Linked DNA regions of Homo sapiens: region 2 is linked to region 1. Evidence: promoter capture Hi-C in 16 types of primary human blood cells and fetal thymus (Javierre and others, 2016). All regions are on one chromosome and are shown on one strand. The core of a region is centred on a gene start or on the middle of the fragment in contact, and the rest is flanking DNA. Distances in the headings are between cores, read along the strand shown. Region 1 holds the start of LINC01589 (long intergenic non-protein coding RNA 1589). Region 2 has its middle 88 kb from the start of MIR4762.

Region 1 (4,753 bases), core at 766-3,265:
TAAAGGCAAAGCAGTTTATAAGCAGCATGAGACAGCAAAACACACAGAGACACCAAGTTGAATCCTTCTTGTTGATCTGGTAGAAGAAACTTGGAGGGAAGGTCCCAGAAGGTGTCATAGAGTGGTATTCGACCAGAAAGCTGCCTGTTTTTTTTTTTTATTCCTAAGGGACATCTATTCTACTGTACAGAGGAAGTCTGTGGCATGTGTCAGAAGTGCCTGGGCTGCCCAGGGTCCTAGCAGGACCCGTTTTAACATGCAGGTGGGCATTGAGTGGAGGGTGCCAGGGCCCACCCAGCCAACCCAGCCAAGCCAGCCAACTAGAATTCGAGGAGGTAAGCCAGCTTTTCCAAAGTTCTCAAGTTTGTCCAGGTGAAAAAACACCTGGAAATCAAGGGTTTTTTTCCTAATATTGTAACATGAAAATTTTCAAATATACAGCCGAGTTGAAGGAATTTTACAGTGAATACCAGGGCACCTTCCACCTAGATTCTGCCACTGACATTTTATGAGATTCAGTTGCATTTTGAAGAAATGACAATATGATGAATTAATAAATACAAATAAGAAACTTACAGTTTCTTGTAGGCTTGCGCTCAAATCCAGCCACTTACTAGCTGTGTGTCCTTGGGCACATTGCTTAATGTCTCAGAGCCTTGGTTTTCTCTACAACGAAATGAAAATAAGGACACATACTTCACAGGAGTGATTGTTAGGATGAAAGGGGATGATTACGTAAAACAGTGCAAGAACTGCTACACAGGAGGTCCTCCATAAATAGTACTGTCATGACACACACACCCGAAAGGATAGTCTTTATTCAGTTAGATGCCACATTTTATTAAAGTCTTGTGTGGACAAGAAGTGAAACCTCAGAGGAATTTATGAAGAATAATTGGAGGCACTTCCTTGTGACTTGGCTTCATCCGGACCGGATGACTTCTGGGTGCCAGCAACAGTTCCCCATTTCCATTCACGTTTCCCCACATCGTTCATGCCAAAGAGATGGGTGCCAAGAGGCCATCCGTCTTCATCCTGGACATAGAATGAGACGGGAACTCACTCTTGAAGGACTTTTGAAGTCTCAGAGAAGAAACGGAGCCACCGTAGACCTTTTGAAATACGGCCTGTGAGAAGCACGGTGACAGTCACCATTACTACCAATAATCACATTACTCTTTGTGGGAAAAAAGACCTACTATGTGCCAGGAAGGCTTCGGTAATCATCTCCAACACACACACATTCTCTCACACACACATGTGCGCATGTGTGCACACACACACACACCACACACACACACACACACACTCCGCAGCCCTTCTGCCATGCCCAGCTCAGGGCCATCTTCTCCCACAAGGATGCCGGTCTCATCTCCTGAAATGAGGTTGCAGTGAGCCGAGATTGAGCCACTGCACTCCAGCCTGGGTGACAGAGCGAGACTCCATATAACCTCTGCCTCCTGGGTTCAAGAAACTCTTGTGCCTCAGCCTCCCAAGTAGCTGGGATTACAAGCGCGTACCACCACACCCAGCTAATATTTTTTGTATTTTTTAGTAGAGACAGGGTTTCGTCATGTTGGCCAGGCTGGTCTCGAACTCCCAACCTCAGGTGATCTGCCTGCCTCAGCCTCCCAAAGTGCTGGGATTACAGGCATGAGCCACCGCGCCCGGCCTGATCTCAGTCTTTAAGAGAGCAGCAGCTCATCTGTGGCCACTGCTTCCCAGGGACTTGCCAGAAGGGAGGTGCAGGGCACAGGGAAATAACCCACCTCTATCTGACGGCTTCAATGGTATCGAATGTCCTCAGTGGCAGCACGCAGCACAGAAGCTGAGGTGTGGCTGCATTCCATTTGGAGAATTCCACTGTGATTCATGGTGTCAGCTGCGGGTTCAAGGTGTCACAATTTAATTATTAAACATCATGAGGCATTAGGAGGCTTGGGCACGCACTGATAAGTGATCCATTTCTAACACAGCTGGTTTATTACTGTTTGTGGCAGCTCCTGCACGAATTGGTGTCCGTTAACTAAGCAATGGTATTATAATTACACATTTAAATTATGTATGGGAAGGGTGTCAGTGGTAGAAGTCAGACTGCAGTGATTACTTTCAGTCTTCAGACCTCCTGGATGTAGTCTCTCTGCAGATAGCTGTAACTCTGGCTTGTTTTCTGCTCATTTTCTGCAGACATGTAGAATCCACTGCTAGGGTCCACTGAGCTGTCTTCTGGGTGGTTTTTGGTGCTGCAGGAGATAAACACATGTGTCTTCCTGGTTGGACCCAGTTGATGCACTAACCTAATTCTGTCCTTTGCCTGCCCTGATCTCCATAGCCTGCTTCTTCCTGGAAATTTGCTGCTGCTGCTGCTTCTTTTTTTTTTTTTTTTTTTTGAGACAGGGTCTCGCTCTGTCGCCCAGGCTGGAGTGCAGTGGCGTGATCTCAGCTCACTGCAGTCTCTGCCTCCCGGGGGTTCAAACCATTCTCTCTGCCTCAGCCTCCTGTGTAGTGTGGATTACAGGCACCCCCCACCATGCCCAGCTAATTTTTGTATTTTTAGTAGAGATGGGTTTTCACCGTGTTGGCCAGGCTGGTCTCGAACTCCTGACCTCAGGTGATCCACCCGCCTCGGCCTCCCAAAGTGCTGGGTCTACAGGCGTGAGCCACCGCGCCCGGCCGGAAATGTGCTTCTTTAGAGGAAAGCACCGTTGATCCCACCTCCTTGATCTGGTTTCTAAGACCTCATACAAACTGGGCCCGTTAGTCTTTGCTCCCTGATACTATCTGATACCATCTGGTCTCACTCCTTCCTTCCCATCTTGTTCATTCATTGGTTCACTCATTCATTCACTCACTTCACGCCCTCCCTCTGGTGAATCAGTTCCCCTCTGTCCTCCCCACTCTGTCCAGTCCTCCCCTAGGCTGCCAGGTTACATTTCCAAAACTCCGATCTGATCAGGCCCTCTTGGTCTCAGATCCTCCAAGGGCTTCCTTCAAGGGCTCCTGCACCAACCTCGTGGTGTGGCTGTGTGACATAATAAGAAACATTCACTTCTATTTGGTCTCTTTCCGGGTTCCTGACACAAAGCTCCTAATCCCTTGTCTTTGGTTTAATGAGGTGACTCTCAGTGGCTCCTGGGTGGGGTTGGGGGCTGAGCACCAGAAAGACCCAGATTCGACGAGGAGCCTGGAGCTTTTGGCTCCACCCCCACCCTCCAGGAAAGGGAGAGGGGCTGGAGATTGAGCTAATAATCCATCACGCGTAAGTAATGAAGCCTCCGTAAAAATCCCTGAACTACAGGATCCAGAGAGCTTCTGGGCTGGTGGACACATCCGCATGCTGGGAGGGTGGCGCCCCCCAACTCCACGGGGACAGAAGCTCCTGTGCCCGGGCCCCACCAGAGCTCGCCCTGTGTGCCTCTTCGTCTTCCTGTTCATCTGTATCATCAATAATGTCCTTTACAAGGACATTATTGTCCTTGTGATAATGAATGAGGAAGGAATTATTCCATTCAGGAAGGAATGAGACCAGATGGTATCAGATAGTATCAGGGAGCAAAGACTAATGGGCCCAGTTTGTATAAGGTCTTAGAAACCTATACATGTAACCAAAGTGTTTCCCTGAGTTCTGTGAGCCATTTTAGCCAATTACCAAACCCGAGGAGGGCGTTCTGGGGACCCCTGATGTGTAGCCAAGTCAGACGGAAGTGTGGGTAACCTGAGCGCCCAATCTTTGCAACTGACATCTGAAGTAGGGACGGTCTTGCAGGACGGAGCCCATATCCTCTCGGGCCTGTGCTAACTCTGGGTGGCCAGCGTCAGAATTGAACTGAAGTGTAGGACGCCCAGATGGTGTCTGCAGAGAGCTGGCCGGGCGTGGTGGCTCACGCCTGTAATCCCAGCACTTTGGGAAACCGAGGCGGGCGGATCACCTGAGGTCAGGAGTTGGAGACCAACCTGGCCAACATGGTGAAACCCCATCTCTACTAAAAAAAATACAAAAATTAGCCAGGCGAGATGGTGGGTGCCTGTGATCCCAGCTACTCAGGAGGCTGAGGCAGGAGAATCGCTTGAACCTGAGAGGTGGAGTTTGCAGTGAGCCAAGATCGCGCCATTGCACTCCAGCCTGGGCAACAGAATGAGACTCTGTCTCAAAAAAAAAAAAAAAAAAAAAGCGGGACAGACAGGGGTGGGAAGTTGGGGAGGGGGCTCTGGGAGGGGGAAGATGTGGGTGCCCCATGTGGAGCTAAGAATGGAGGAGTGGCAGGGGGCACAAGGTCACAGAACCAGGCTGAGGAAGAAGAGGTTGCCTGGAGGGTGGGACCCAGAAGCTACTGAAATGTCGCAGCAGAAATGGCCATTGAACGCCCCTTCTAAGGTCCTCGGTGGGAAAGTCAAGTCCTAACATCCTACATGGGGAAATCTACGCAGTTAGCAGAGCCAAATATGACAGCGACATGAGCCAGCCACTTTGGGAAACAGTCAAGTCCTAACATCCTACATGGGGAAATCTACGCAGTTAGCAGAGCCAAATATGACAGCGACATGAGCCAGCCACTTTGGGAAACAGTCAAGTCCTAACATCCTACATGGGGAAATCTACGCAGTTAGCAGAGCCAAATATGACAGCGACATGAGCCAGCCACTTTGAACCTGACGTTTCATCGTCACGTGAGACTGTAGCTCTCTGAGTCCCACACCCTGGTCACCTTGTCCTGGTTCCTGCACCTTTGAGGGTGAGTTATTCAAGTCAGCC
Region 2 (4,579 bases), core at 506-3,005, 240 kb after region 1:
TTTTTTGTTGTTGTTCAGTAACTTCACAATCTAAGCATAGGGCTTTGGAAACTGCTAAAACATGTCATTTGCAAAATAGGATATAGAAAAAATGATTGAGATGATTTGGGCTACCAATTAATACGTCTTTAAATCAAATTTTTTTGTGTGCATCTTACATCCATTCTCTCTTGAAGTCATTCATGTGCTGCCCTGATAACACATGGCATTTAAGTGTTATTTAAATGATTTTTTTTTTTCGAGATGGAGTCTTGCTCTGTCACCCAAGCTGGAGTGCAGTGGCACAATCTCAGTTCACTGCAACCTCTGCTTCCCAGGTTCAAGCAGTTCTCCTGCCTCAGCCTCCTGAGTAGCTGGGATTATAATTTTTGTATTTTTAGTACAGATGGGGTTTCACCATGTTGCCAGGCTGGTCTCAAACTCCTAACCTCATGATCCGCCCTCCTTGGCCTCCCAAAATGCTGGGATTACAAGCATGAGCCACTGCGCCTGGTCTTAAAATGATTTTTTTACTGTCCTTTAGTTTCTGTCCTTGAATGAATAAACAAAGATGTTAGAACAAAAATTCCAGTCTTTGCAGGAAGAAAACTTTTTAAAAAATCTTTCATCATCAGTAAGTTCTACACATAAGTGCTTCACATGTGAAGCAGTAGAATTGAGGCGGAATTTTTAAATGCAGAAAAGTTGAGGAAGAACCTTAACATTTAAGATCTAATATAAAACCAAGCCTGTGGGGTGGGGGGGAACCAAAAAAACAACAACAAAAAAACACCCTCTCGGTGCTGTCCAAGGTTCTGATCGTTTCAGCCATATTGGCTTGTCCACATAAAATCAATTAAAAACCTTGTTTTCAAACTTCAGATTTTTTTTCTTGTGTTTGTATGACACAATATCTGTTTCCTCTTTCCTACACACTTTATATATTTATTTATATTTTGAGGTCAAATATTATGTGATACTTTGCAATATGAATTTCATATACCATCCACAATATAAATGAATTTGTAAGCTTTTGCTGTAAACATAGTGGTTATGGTATTAACTCATCCATCAGACTTTCCTCATCTCAACCAGAGACATTCCTGTCAGTGGAAATTAATTTTCACAGTTTTCCATAATTATTTATTCTTGCTTAAATTAGAAACATTATATTAAATGTTTCTTTTTGTTTAAACAACGTCATATACATTATTCATTTACTCACAAATTTCTATGCTTATTTCACATCATTGAAGCAAGGGCTTAGGCAATTTTTATCATACGGATTTAATTTTTCCACCACTTTGTAAAGTGTATTGGCCAAGAATATCAGCTCTGAAGCTAGAATTCCTGGGTTTCAGTCCCTGCTCTTTCTCCTGCTTAACCCATGGGCAGGTTCTATAAGTTCTGGGTGTCCCCATTTTCTCATTGTCAGCCCCACTGAAAATGCGGCTCATAATACCACCTGCCTGATGAGAGCACATGAGAGCACAAGCAAGTGGTTGTGTGTGAAGTGCTTAGTCCTGGTATTAATCCCATTATATGAATGAGGAAGTTGAGTCACAGAGAAGTTATGCCCAAGGACACACAGCAGTTAATGCTTAGTGATTAATTGCTATAGTTAATTGGAAGAGAATGAGTGAGAAAAAAATAGATAGCTTCTTTTCCCAGAATCGTGGAAAATTAATATAGCAGAAATGCCTGGACTATGGCTTTGGACGTTGTGTTAGTGCATTCTCGCATTGCTATACAGAACTCCCTGAGACTGGGTAATTTATAAAGAAAAGAGGTTTAATTGGCTCACGGCTCTGCAGGCTATACAGGAAGTATGGCTGGGGAGGCCTCAGGAAACTTAGGATCATGGCAGAAGGGGAAGCAGGCACGTCTTACATGGCTGGAGCAGGAGGAAGAGAGTGAGGGTGGTGGAGAAGTGCTACACACTTTTAACCAGATGTTGTGAGAACTCACTATCATGATAACAGCAAGGGTGAAATCCACCCACATGATCCAGTCACCTCCTATCAGGACATTGGGGATTACAGTTGAACATGAAAATTGGGCAGGGACACAAATCCAAACCATATCAGATGTAGAGCAAGGAGAGTGCTATGGGAAGAACATACGCTTGCAATTAGAAAAACTCAAGTTCAAATCTCAACTTCACTTGCCAGCTGTGTGGCCTTGAGCAAGTTACTTAACCACTCTGAGCCTACGTTTCCCCCTCGAGGACTGTACCATGCACTAGGGATACAACAGTGAACAAGACAGACATGGCCTCTGCTCTCATAAGGATTATCTTCTGGTGAGGGTGACAGAAAGTTATTAATAAGTGAACAAATATGTAAAACGAGAGCATTGCATATTGTAGTAAGTGCCATGAAGAAAATAGGCAAGTTGATGGTAACTGGGGTGTTCTTTTTGAGTAAAAGCCAGAAGAAGGTTGAAAAGGTGCCAGCTGTGCAAAGAATCAGAGAGAAGTGTTCTGGAAGAGGGAGCAGCAAGTGCAGAGGCCCCAAAATTGGAAAAGCTTCACCTGTTCAGGGACCAGGTGGGTGGCCAGTGGGCCCAGTGCCTGGTGGCCAGGGGAGAACATCATAAGACCAAGTCAGAGGGGTCAGCAGGAATCAGATCATGCAGGGTCTTCAAGGCCATGGGAGGAATTTGAATTTTGCTTGAAGTACACTGGGAAGCTATTGAGCCATTTTTAGCAGAGGAATGCCAAGATTCTGCTTGCACTTTTAAATGACTACTCTTGCTGCAGTGTGGAAAATGGAGAGGAGAAAGAATGAAAGTAGAGAAATTGCGTATGGGGCTGTTGATGACAGTGATCTAGACAAGCATGGTGGCAGTGGAAATGGAGAGAGAGACTTGAGTTGGAACTGTGTGTCTGAGGGAGGATCCGTAGGACAAGCTGAGGGTGGAGTGCATGAAGTCCACAAGAGTAGCTCCTGAGATCTGTCGAACAGCTGGGTGGATGATTGTCCATTCACTGGGGTGGAAAAGTTGAATGTGAAGATTGGTTCTTGTGTATGTTTTATTTGTGGCAAAGAGAATCCAGAATTCTATTTTGGGCAAATGAAGTTTGAGATGCTTTTGAGACATCCAAGTGGTGATGATTTTAAAAAGTAATTGGACCTATAAACTAGGGCTCAGAAGACAGATCAGTATTGGAAATAGATATTTGGAATGATTGGTTTTATGTATAGATGATATGAAGCCATGGAAATCAATGAGATTATCTAGGGTGAGGTTGTAGAAAGACTAGTGAAGCAGGCCTGCTGTCAACGTGTGGCCCACAGTCTAAACTTGCTCTCAACATTAGAGCATGAGGCTCCTCAGTATGCTAGAGACCCCTCAAAAAAATTGTAATGGCTTTATCACAAAAATGTACCATAATGGACTTGAGCATTCCCTTCTTTTTTAAATATATTTATGTATTGGTGGGGAGGGGGTCTTGCTCTATCACACAGGCTGAAATTCAATGCCACAACCATGGTTCCCTGCAGCCTTGAACTCCTGGGCTCAATTGATCCTCCCACTTCAGCCTCCTGAGTAGCTGGGTCTACAGGTGTGAGCCAGTGCACCCGGCTACCATTCCCTTCTTGTTAGACATTTTATTTTCTGCTTCTTATCATTAGAAATGCTGCAGTCAACATCTTAGGGCTTAAAGCCTTATCTTTGTTTTAGGTTGCATACTGTGGGAGGTCAAGGAAGGAAGATAAGGGGTTAGAGAAGATTTGTCTCAGAGAAGTAATCATATTAGAAAAGAAAAGGCACTTCCCAACTAGGTAGTTCTGACCAAACCCCTCTGAAGGCAACTGAAACACAGGTCAGAATAGTTTCAGCTACTGTTTAAAGGTACCTGGGAGCTAGCAAGACACAGCAAGGAATTACAGGGCCAGGGTCTGGGAGTGAAAAGAGGCCCAGGAAGATAAGTGTATTTGGGTTGCTGTTTCCTCTGAAAGTATTTTTCACTTCAGAGGAGGAGGCAGAGTGGCTAAGAGGCCAAAGAGTGCTTATGAGAGTCCTGGGAGCCAAGGTGGTGGGATGCTGTCCCGGTGAACCTCCATTGCTACAGGCAGGGGACCCAGTGGGCTGAATCAGAAGAGTCGCAGTGAACCGGAAGTAGTTCCTCCCAGAGACCACACTCAGTTTCCAACCATTTGCACCCCAGAAACTGAACTAAAGTTCCCCTTGTGTGCTATGACGTGTGATGTCAGTGATGCACTACATCCTGGAGTGCTGCTCACTCAGGCGTCTAGCAACAGAAATCTCAGGAAAACGGCTCTACCCTTGGTCTTGCATTATTTGTATAGTTTTTCATACGTTGTCTCAATCAAAAATAGGAGGTGACGAGACAACACGATATGAAAGTCAAAAGAAGCGATAACAAATAGAAACAAACTTAGAGGGGCTCCTGATAGTGGAGTCTTCAGGCAGGAATTTCAAATAACTTTATTCGATGTGTTTAAAGAGACAAAGGACAATATTGGAAACGTCAGCAAAAGAAGGGACACACTGTGACAGGGGGACCAAATGAAAATTCTTGAACTGGAAAAATATAACTAAAATTAAGAAATCAATGGATGAGTTTAGCCAC

The links. Contacts are between HindIII fragments. The CHiCAGO score rates a contact against its expected background, and 5 or more counts as called.
Region 2: a fragment that was not itself captured here is called in contact with the fragment with the promoter of LINC01589 in region 1 in 1 of 17 cell types (endothelial precursors); the score reaches 5.1 in endothelial precursors.

What each region holds. Positions count from the first base shown.
Region 1 is chr22:45,603,632-45,608,384 of GRCh38, forward strand. It overlaps LINC01589 (long intergenic non-protein coding RNA 1589), which reads right to left and starts at 2,016. Exons shown (of 2, transcript NR_131244.1): 1 at 1,770-2,016; 2 at 801-1,127. The HindIII fragment of the contact is 5,695 bases long and covers 1-4,753 here.
Region 2 is chr22:45,846,367-45,850,945 of GRCh38, forward strand. No RefSeq gene overlaps it. Among named protein-coding and RNA genes, the nearest start is that of MIR4762, 88 kb to the left of the region's middle. RefSeq lists an enhancer at 1-54. The HindIII fragment of the contact is 1,497 bases long and covers 1,008-2,504 here.